Linked DNA regions of Homo sapiens: regions 1 and 2 are each linked to region 3. Evidence: promoter capture Hi-C in human tissues and cell types (Jung and others, 2019). All regions are on one chromosome and are shown on one strand. Each heading gives the region's core, a stretch centred on a gene start or on the middle of the fragment in contact. The rest is flanking DNA. Distances are from core to core; before and after follow the strand shown. Region 1 overlaps ANKMY1 (ankyrin repeat and MYND domain containing 1). Region 2 overlaps FARP2 (FERM, ARH/RhoGEF and pleckstrin domain protein 2). Region 3 holds the start of AGXT (alanine--glyoxylate aminotransferase).

Evidence for each region. Contacts are between HindIII fragments. The study calls those that stand out against the background at their distance.
Region 1: a contact is called between a fragment that was not itself captured here and the fragment with the promoter of AGXT in region 3, in 1 of the 25 tissues and cell types used here (lymphoblastoid cells).
Region 2: a contact is called between a fragment that was not itself captured here and the fragment with the promoter of AGXT in region 3, in 1 of the 25 tissues and cell types used here (aorta).

The regions. Positions count from the first base shown.
Region 1 is chr2:240,518,033-240,521,655 of GRCh38, forward strand. ANKMY1 (ankyrin repeat and MYND domain containing 1) reads right to left here. Exons shown (of 18, transcript NM_001282771.3): 9 at 2,330-2,501. Among named protein-coding and RNA genes, the nearest start is that of ANKMY1, 38 kb to the right of the region's middle. The HindIII fragment of the contact is 6,500 bases long and covers 1-3,623 here.
Region 2 is chr2:241,368,313-241,371,754 of GRCh38, forward strand. The region is part of intron 1 of FARP2 (FERM, ARH/RhoGEF and pleckstrin domain protein 2); the gene reads left to right. LOC105373973 (a long non-coding RNA gene) reads right to left here. Exons shown (of 3, transcript XR_924066.2): 2 at 2,063-2,225. Among named protein-coding and RNA genes, the nearest start is that of FARP2, 14 kb to the left of the region's middle. The HindIII fragment of the contact is 3,975 bases long and covers 1-3,291 here.
Region 3 is chr2:240,866,652-240,870,216 of GRCh38, forward strand. AGXT (alanine--glyoxylate aminotransferase) reads left to right here and starts at 2,173. Exons shown (of 11, transcript NM_000030.3): 1 at 2,173-2,379; 2 at 2,519-2,711. The coding sequence starts at 2,215. RefSeq lists an enhancer at 1,692-2,192. The HindIII fragment of the contact is 24,692 bases long and covers 1-3,565 here.

The DNA.
Region 1 (3,623 bases), core at 957-3,456, 350 kb before region 3:
TCAGCATGAAGCAGCGAGACGGATGCGTGGCCTGATTCCTCATGATTGAGGAATTGACGAATGGGGGGGAAGGGTGTTGAAACGGGCCCAATTGTCCCATAGAACTGATGTCTATGGTTTCTTTTAAATAAACATAGAAATTGACCCTTCCATTCTTTAAAACTTGGGAACGTTACATTTGTCTTATCTGAGCTCCTTCCTCAGGAAACCAACCAGCAGTCCTCCTAAATAGTATCAAGGAACAGAGACTCACTAGATCACAGCATCTGGACAGTGAGACCCTAGACCCCTCACCCATCATGCCTGCCTCTGGGACCACCAGCTTCTTGCTGACCAACTCTTTTTTCTTAGCCCTCCTAATTCCTGCTTTCCCACACGTGGTTATATTTCTTCCCTGCTATGAAACCCCCAATTTTAGTCGGTTGAGGACAGGGTTTGAGAACAATCTCCTGCTCTCCCTGGTGCAGCACCCAATTAAAGCCTTCTTCTCTGGCAGTACCTGTCATCTCACTGATTGGCTTTCTGTGCAGTAAGCAGCAGGATCTAGACCGAACCCCTGGCGTTTTGGTGACATGTTCATTTCTGAACCCACTCAAATATTTTAATTTTTAAAAACTTTCTATTTGAAAGATAAATGTGTAAATAATACATTCCTGATCAGCTATGAACAGGTGAATAAACATGTGACACAGTGAAGGATGTCCGTGCCCAGTTTAAAGGTTGTGACCTTAATCAGTTTCAAAGACGGAGTCCAATCAGTAAACCTAAAAAGGTATGAAATTATCCTGAGTCTTAAACCAAAAATTCTGTTTTCTGTGTAATCTTACACTTGGAAGAAAAGTTTAATTTCCAAGCTGAAAGGCTGTGCACTAAGGGGCCTGGACAGTGAGACCCGCCTGCCCTCAAACACTCAATGCCGCCTGAGTGACAACTGGCAAGGCTGGTGCCCAGAGAGAGCCATCAGCTCTCACCCCATCAACACCCTGTGAAGAAGGTAAAGTGCTGAAACGATGGACGAGTGTTTACACAACCGGAGAAGAAAAACAAAATCTACAAATAAATTTCACAGCCAAGTGGACAGAAGCCCATCATGGGTCTGCATAATGGGCCCCCTGTTCTGGGGGCACCCAAAGGTGGCCCTGGTGCCAGTTCGTCACCCATCTGGAATCTTCACAGCCACTGTGGACAGCAGTGGTTTCTTGAGTGTGGATGGGTGGATGCACTGAACGGAAAATTGTGATGGGGTTGGTCTAGATGTTAAATTAGAGAAATGATTGTAGGGTCCTTCAAAATACAAAGAGAAAGAATGACAACAAGGGTTCAGGCAAAGGGATGAAATACAACAGATAACGTCACGTTAAAGTGAACAGGAAACGCCGCAGTGAGCCCACGCTTGCTGTCATACTTCCATCTCGCCCCATCCCCTGTGAACCTAACGAGGCCCTCATGGACTGACGGAGCTGCGAGAGAAGCCTGGCCTCACCCCAGACGCCTCTGAGAGGAGGAGCAGTCATGGGCAGCGACCGATTCCATTCCAGAGCAGTGGAAATTCGGGAAGGAAGCCCTTCCAGCAGCTGTGCTGTGGGAAGGGCTGCAGGAATCTGGGGCCAAGCACGGGGGTACACACTGCCCAGGGGGACAGGTGGGAAAAGGAGAGTTGTTTGAACGAGCTAAGCCCATAAAGCCCTGAGTCCCCAGTGAAACTCAGCAGAAACACTAAACTTTCTTCGAAGAACTAGCAGGCTAATTTATTCCAGAGCAAAATGCCCTGTGAAGCCGCTTGCTCACGGGTGGGTGTGGCCTCAGAGAGGGAAGAAGCCGTCCGCTGGGAAAGGCACTTCTTAAGAAAAAAAATATAAAATCAGATTCCCCTTCGAAGATTTTTTCTCAGCTAAATATTTTGCGGCTGGATCTGTTGAGCTAAAGATAAAACCTCAGCACCAAAACCCTTTGCCTCTCCTGCCTGCGTCCTTGTGATGCTGAGCGTGGGTTGAAAGGAGGCCCGCCTCCTCCTGAATATAAGTCTCCCCTTTCCAAGGGGCCTTCAGGATGCGCTTCCCCTTAGTTTGCTTCAACACTGGGAAAAAAATCACACGGATCGTGAAGTACTCTAAAAACTAGCTCGGTGTCCAAATCCTGTCTGGGGACATGGGTGAAAGAGCGGGCTGTGGGACCCCCCACTGCGGCGCGCCGTCATCACTCACAGCCCAGGTGGTCGCCTGCAAGAGCCCACCCCTCTCTTCCGCGCCTAGGTGGAGCGAGGAGCTTCCCGGCCAGTGCCCGGGAGTCTGCTGCGCTCGTCCCGGCGCCCGCCCGCCGCGGCTCCTACCTGCGGCGGAAAGCAGATGTCGGTCCTCGCCCCGTGCTCCAGCAGCAGCCTCACCCCATCCACGTCCCCGGCCTTCACAGCAAGGAACAGGACCTGCATGGGCACGCAGCACAGGTTGGGGTCCGCGCCCCGGCGCAGCAGCAGCTTGATGGTCCGCCAGCGCTTCCTCCGCCTGAAAAAGACGGTGCGCCCGTGGGCCCCTGGAGGGCAGGCACCTGCACTGCGCCCAGAACGGGGCCATGCCAGCGAGGAGGCTGGGGAGGGGCGCGTAGGGAGTATGTGTGTGCCGCAACTACACAATCACACACACAGCACACACCCACACACGCAGACACACCACACAGCACACAACTACACACAAGCCACACCAGAGCGCACACACACGGCACACACAGCACACCACACAGCACACTCACAACCACACCCACAGCACACCACACAGTACACACAGCACACAACCCCACACACAAGCCACACCAGAGCGCACACACCATAGCACAGCGCACACCACACAGTACGCACACGGCACACCACACACCAGAGCACACAAACCACACTACACATACAGCACACAACCACACAAACCACACACACACCACACACACCACTCACACCACAAAGACACAAACACACAGGCGCACACACACCTCTGAGGGGTCACTGAAAGGCTGGCCAGGTCAGGAGTAAACTGTGCCTCCAGAGAAAACTTGGGCCTCAAGAGAGGCTGGGACCAGGTGGGTGGGGGTTGTGCAGCCGCGCAGGGCTGAGGGAGGAGGGGACTGGGGGTAGGGGGCCCAGATGGCAGCGGGAATGACCATGAGGGCAGGGCAGGTGTAGGATCGAGCCAAGCCCACTGGCCCTGCAGTAGGCACAGAATCGGAGCCGCGGGAACTAGATCGTCCTTGAGCACTTGAGCAGCAGCCTCCAGCCCAGTCTCCAGACCCGTCTCCAGACCCTGACCACTCGGAAGCCCAGGGAGCTGCGTTGACGTGGGTGCTGGCTCTCCTTGTCTGCCGCTACCATGTAAAGCTCAAAAACTGTCAAAACATGTCCAGGATCTATGCCTTTCTGGTGGGTTGTTGGTCTCGCTGACTTCAAGAATGAAGTCGCGGAACTCGCGGTGTTACAGCTTTTTTTTTTTTTTTTTTTTTTTTTTTTGAGACAGTCTCGCCCTGTCGCCCAGGCTGGAGTGCAGTGGCGCGATGCCACTCACTGCAAGCTCCGCCTCCCAGGTTCAAGTTATTCTCCTGCCTCAGCCTCCCAAGTAGCCGGGACTACAGGCACCCGCCACCAC
Region 2 (3,442 bases), core at 54-2,553, 500 kb after region 3:
CTTTGCCACTTTCCTCTGGGTATCTGGGAGGTTTCGCTGGCAGGAGCAGGGATGGGCAGAGGTTGGCACCAGGTTCCTGGGACCACAGAACATGGTGCGCCAAGGACTGTTCATGGCCTTGCCGTGTTCCTAGTCTAGCCTGTGTGTTCTTGCCTCTTTAATACTTGTTTATAAGCGCACAAAGCAAAACAAATGTAATTTTCATTAGTCAAAATTTATGTGAAACAGCCTCAGCCTCCCGAGTAGCTGGGATTGACAGGCTTTGACACCGAGGTTAACCGACAGTCACAACAATGGGGTTACCTGCCGGTATTCTATTAATGTATTTTTTTACATTTCTTTAGAGATAGAGTCTCACTATGTTGCCCAGGCTGGTTTCAAACTGCTATTCTCAAGTGATCCTCCCACCTCAGTCTCCTGAGTAGCTGAGATTATAGGTGTGCGCCACTATTCCTGGCTTTATTAAGGTCTTTTTAAGTTTTCATAAGCTTAGTAATAAACTTAAAGTCTTAAACTTAAGTCTTAGTCTTAAATTTAGTGTTAAAGTCTTAAATATAAGTCTTAGTCTTAATCTTAAAGCTGAGTAATTATTAAACGGATAGTTTATGCCACGTTACTATTATGTGACAACAAACAGATTTTTCTTTGGGATATCAGCAACAGAGTACCACAGGGTCATCTCCTCTCAAGTGAATCTGTCTTCTTAAGATCAGTCTCATGAACAAGGGTATCTTGTTGTGGCCCTGCATCTCAGCTGCAGCCATGTTGACGTCTGTCTGGGCTAAATGAAAATGAGGATGTAAGTCGCTGCTTGGAAAGTGTGCAAACGTGTAAAGATTTCCTCTGTGAGCCACATATTTGAGAAGAGAGTTTGATATTCCTTAAGCTAGGAAAAGTGTTTTTTATTTGTCTAGTGTGTCATGTTCTCGTGGAAGAGGAAGCAATGTTAAAAAACTTGTTTTAAACATTTTTGTTATAAAATAAACACACATAAAAACATGAATCAGATATATGGCTTAATGAATTATAAAATGAACACTGTCCAGATCAAGAAATAAAACTGTGCCCTGCCCACCTAAGAACTCCTTCTCTGTGTTCCATCCCAGTGACAGTCCCTCTCTCCCATCAAGAAGGGACCACTTTAGTAATAACTTCCTGGTGTTTTCTCTTTATGGTTTTATCAGTGGAATGTGCACCTCTAGGGAGTACAGGTTAGTCTTGTCTATTTTTTTTTTTTAGCAGTAGATGTTTAGACATGACTTTCTTATAATGAGTAGAAGAGAAAGAACCTGAAGAAATTTTTAAAGCTATACTTAAGAAAACATAAATGAGAATTATACAGTAGAATAAATAAGAGAAATGACTTCTAAAAATGTATTTCAGTTGTATAAATGTTTACAGATTTGTAGCATTACTTAAGGGAAAGAATGCCTTTGGTGACCAAAGTAAAACATCCTATCCTTTGTTTCAGAAGAACCCACTGTTGGTGGTTCTATATTTAATAAATGTTGTGAGCTGACCAAGAACATATAGATCACTTATTTTTATTTTCATGTTTTCACGTTGGAGGAACCTTCAAAGTGGAAGTCTTCTTCATTTGCATTCTCTTACTTTTGCATTAACTACTCAATAAATAAAAGTTTGTGAAAAAGACAAATATCATATATTCTCACTCATATGTGGGAACTGAAAAAAAGTGATGGTTACCAGAGGTTGGGAAGGGTAGTAGGGGGTGGGAAATTAAGAAGGATTAATTAATGGGTACAAAAATGCAGTAAGAAGAAATAAGATCTATTGTTTGGTAGCACAATAGGGCAACTATAGTTAATACCTTATTGTATATTTCAAAATAACTGGAGGAGTGGATTTGGAATGTTCCCAACAGAAAGAATTTGTAAATGTTTGAGGTCGAGGATATCCCAAATACCCTAATTTGACCATTACACATTGTTTGCTTGTATAAGGATACAAAACTTGAGTTAGACAGCAGTTTAGAAGATCTATTATATAGCATGGTGACTCTAGTTAGTATTGTATTTCTGAAAATTGCTAAGATACATACCGTATTTCTGAACATTACTAATTTTTGTGGATTTTAAGTGTTCTCACCACAAAAAATTTGAAGTTTGTGAGGTCTTGCATATGTTAATTGCCTCAATTTGGCCATCCCGTAGTGTAGACATATTTCAGGGCATCATGTTGTACATGATAAGTATATACAATTTCTGTCAATTAAAAAATAAGAAAAAAAATCACATACCCCATAAACATGTACAATTATGCACTCATAAAAATTAAGTAAAAGTTTGTGGAACTGAAATGAAAAGGCTCGTTTATGATTCTCAGAACTTCATATATCTCATGTTTAATATTAGTGTTGCAAAAACGGTAATTTTGTTAAAGTGTTGTTCTGTTTGTGGTTGTAGTCTTTTGTCTTTTGCTGTTATCATCTTTACAGTACATTTCATGATGTACCAGTTCATGTTTTTTGGTGCCAGTGACATTAAGTAAATACTTAGCAAATGTTTACAGTAAGAATTTAGTTCCTTCCCTCAAGGAGCATCCAGCATGGAGAAAGACAGCTGAAGATGATGGGTAACTGCCAACCTGTGCCAAACGTGCAGCTCAGGTAATAAATGTGTCAGTCAGTGGCTTTGTTTAGGAATTAGGATGGGACCTTGCACTGCCTTGTTGTTTTGTTCATAGTACTCACATTTTGCTTCTCCCGGAGGATTTAGCTCTTCATTTTTTGCTTTCTTGTTTGATAAATTGGACGTGTGCAGAAGTTCAAAAGGTTGTCTTTGTGGGTAAGGTTTAAGTGTACAGTAGGAAATGCCTGGCAGTAAGTCACTGAGAGCCTATTTGAAATTAAGAGATTAAAAAGGTTCTTTTCTAGGTGTGGTGGCTCGCCTGTAATCCCAGCACTTTGGGAGGCCAAGGTCGGAGGATGAGTTGAGGCCAGGAGTTGAAAACCAGCCTGGCCAACATGGTGAAACCCCATCTCTACTAAAAATACAAAAAATTAGCTGGGTGTGATGGCGCATGCCTGTGGTCCCAGCTACGCCAGAGGCTGAGGTGGGAGAATTGCTTGAGCCCGGGAGGTGGAGGTTGCAGTGAACCAAGATGGGGCCAGTGCACTTCAGCCTGGGCAACAGAGCAAGACTCCGTCTCCAAAAATAGCCGGGGGTTCTTGATTTGCTTGTCTTGATGACAAAATAAGCATGAAAAAGAGGAAAGGGCCAGGAGACTCGGAGCAATTAAGTTGTCGTGCAAGGGGACTGGGCTAGAAATTGAGTGAGATTAACTCTTTAAAAGGTTACAGATTAGCGGAAGACTCTGAGAGTGATTGGGTGAGATAAAATAATGCGTGCAGTGCTACATGCTTTGTTGATTAAACACCGAGCATTTGTATCTCACCTCCACCAGTTTTGCCATATTTTTT
Region 3 (3,565 bases), core at 923-3,422:
TTTTACTTACCAGGAAATCACAAGTAAGAGAACCTACCGCCTCCCTTGAAATAGCAAAAGCTGGCACCCATCTATCAGCTCTACAAGTCATTAGACTCACAAGCAGGATTTTGGTGTCTGGTAACAGGTGAGTTCTGGATTACCTCCTAGCTGAACAAGGAGGGGTCTGTGCTGTCATCAACAGGACCCGTTGCACCTACATTTATGTGTCTGGAGAAGTGGAAACCGATGCCCAAGAAATCATCAAACAAGCCAAATGGCTACACACACTTTCCCAAAGCAACCAAGACTGGGCCAAAACTTTTACTGATTGGTTTTCAAAAAATCACTTGGCTTCCCCCATTCCTTAGACCTTTATCTTCTGTCATTTTTCTTTTAATATTTGGTCCCTGCCTTTTTAATGCTCTGATTGCTTTTCTATGTTCTACATGAGAACAATTCCACCTGCAGAAGGCTATGCATTCCCAACACTGGCCTGCAACTGCAGCTCGATTTACATGGGGCTTCTTGATGGAAATACCGGCCTGCAACTGCAGCTCCCATTTACGTGGGGCTTCTTGATGGAATCCCATCACGTGCCTCCGTGCACAAGTTTTCATGACCCTTTATTCCCTTCATGACCGAGAGCAAGAAAGGGAAAAACGTGACCTACCCCCCTGAACTCCCTTTCAGCAGCAAGTAGTCAGGCGCACTGGACACCCCTCTTCACTGTGCCGTTTCCCCTTTCTTGAGACCCCAACAGGAAGCAGGTGGACATGAGCATGGCAGAAAAGGAAGGGTCAAAGATTTCACCAAGATATTTGTCAGAGGGAAAATGAGGACAGCAAAGATCACCTGGAGACCATCAAGCAGGCCCCAGGTGGGGTGGGTGGAGGGGAGCCTCTTTATTTGAGAAATGTAGAATGAATTAGACTTCCCTATTATCTAAAGTTGGCACCTGGTTCCAGGCCTCTTTTCAACCTAAAACTTATACATAACTAGAATTTCTATACATCTCTGGAATGCAGCATGCTGAAACTCACTGTGCAACCCCTGCCTTGTGTGTGTCTGTATACCATGCAGGTTTGCTTGCTAAATTGAGCCTGTAAACCAAAAAGTACCTCAAACAGGTCTCAATTAATTTAGAAAGTTTTTGTTGCCAAGGCTAAGGATGCACCCGTGGTACAGCCTCAGGAGGGAGGACATCCTTGCCAAGCTCAAGGGTGCACCCCTGACCACAAGGGCCCAAGGTGGTCGGGGCACAGCTTGCTTTTATACATTTTAGGGAGATATGAGGCATCAATCAATACATGGGAGATTTACATTGGTTCCATCTGGAAGGGCGGGACAACTTGAATTGGGGGGCTTCCAGGTCATAGGTAGATTTAAACATATTTTGATTGGCAACTGACTGAAGAATTATTATCAGCAGAAAGGAGTGTCTGGGTTATGAAATAGGGGTTGCAGGGAGCAGATGATGCCTTCAGGTAGCGGGATTTAGAGAGAAAATAGATGGTAAATGCTTCCTATCAGACTTAAGGTCTATGTCGATGTTAATGCTGGGGGTTATGATGTGGCATGGCCTGAACGTCTTCCGGGTTAAAGTTTAGAGCACCCTGGCGGACAGGGAACCCCATTCAGATGGTTGCTGGGGGGCCTTCGAATTTTATTTTTGGTTTACAAGCCTTCCCATCAGCTGCGCCAGGGTCAGCAAACCACAGTCCATGGGCCCAATCTGGCCTGCCACCTGCTTTTTGTAAATAAAGTTTTATAGGAACACGCCCACACCTCTGGCAGCTGCTTTGCAAGCACGCAGCAGGGTTGAGTTGTTGCAACATAGACCACAGGGCCTGCCAAGCCTCAATTATCTGTGCTCCGACCCTTTAAGAAACACTTCTCTCACCCCTGAGCTAAGCAGAATAAGAGGGGCTGGACGTGCAGGACTCAGAGTGGGAGCGAGGAGGGCTGGGGTGAGGACAGCTTTGTCACACTCTGTTTTTCTGTCACTCAGCCCTGGGGGCTCCCTCTGCCTGAGGGCTTCGTCCCCTGCTGCCTGGCCGTGACCCGCAGCACAAGCACAGATAAGCCTCAGGGAACAAAAGGCAGGGCTGCCACGGAAGCCCATCCACCAATCCTCACCTCTCACCTCTGTGTCCGCCCTGCTGGGAAATATTCCAGGCTTTGGCCAAGGCCAGTGCAGCCCCAGGTTCCCGAGCGGCAGGTTGGGTGCGGACCATGGCCTCTCACAAGCTGCTGGTGACCCCCCCCAAGGCCCTGCTCAAGCCCCTCTCCATCCCCAACCAGCTCCTGCTGGGGCCTGGTCCTTCCAACCTGCCTCCTCGCATCATGGCAGCCGGGGGGCTGCAGATGATCGGGTCCATGAGCAAGGATATGTACCAGGTAGGAGTGGGGGTCACTCGGGGGGCCTGGGTCTCACCCATGTTCCCACCCACAGATCGTGGACGAGGGAAGGGGGTCACTGCCTCCTCACTTGGGGAGGCGGGGAGCCTGGGTCTCACCCTATACCACCCGCATGCAGATCATGGACGAGATCAAGGAAGGCATCCAGTACGTGTTCCAGACCAGGAACCCACTCACACTGGTCATCTCTGGCTCGGGACACTGTGCCCTGGAGGCCGCCCTGGTCAATGTGCTGGAGCCTGGGGACTCCTTCCTGGTTGGGGCCAATGGCATTTGGGGGCAGCGAGCCGTGGACATCGGGGAGCGCATAGGTAAGGGAGAGGCCCAGGTGGGGATGGCCCTGGATCCATCCTTCAAGGCCTCCCTGGCCTCCCTCTGTTTGAAGCTGGCAGCCCCCGTTCCTGGGTGAGCGCTTACCCACCTTGTGGCCCTGTGCGCACGAACCTCCTGCCAGCCCACTGCCTCCTCCAGGCGGTGTCGGGCACTCATGAGGCCTGACTCTGATAGGGCTGGGAGCAGCACAGGTGCCCCGATCCCCCCAGTCTCCTTGAGCTGTTTCTGGAGCATGTGCAGGACGGAACTACAGGGAAGCCTCTGGTCCCAGCACACACTCCTGAGAGCCCCGGCCGCTGTCCAGGGCCCCAGGCACCAGCTCTGCTTTGTGACAGGGTGGGGTTTCAGAAGCTGAAGCCTCCCCTCAAATCTCAGCAGCCTTCCTTCTGGAATCTTGATGTGATACACAAAATATGGAGGTATGGGCAGAGTATTCGCCTCCGGAGTACACTTTTCTGGGAGAGACACAGGAGCAGGAGTGTGCCCTGGGTTTAATGATTGATTGTGGCATTGAGGGACATCAGCTTGGTGAGCTCCACAATGGCCATGCTGGTTAATACGCGACCGCAACAGCCAAGAGGGTCCCAACCCCAAGTCCACAAACTTTTCAAGGGGACCCAGGGTCGGCAGAGGCCAGGACCCCAAGTGGACATCAGGGCACGCAGGCTCAGATGCCTGTGGTATATGGCTTCCCTTTTCCCCATTCTGTCCCCTTGGCCGCAGGTTCTTCCCCTCCCACAACCTGGCCCTGAACAGCACACAGGATAGGGCAGAGACAGGGAGGGGGTGAGGGCCTGATTCCTGGAGTCCCCAGCTCCAACAGAGGTCAAGG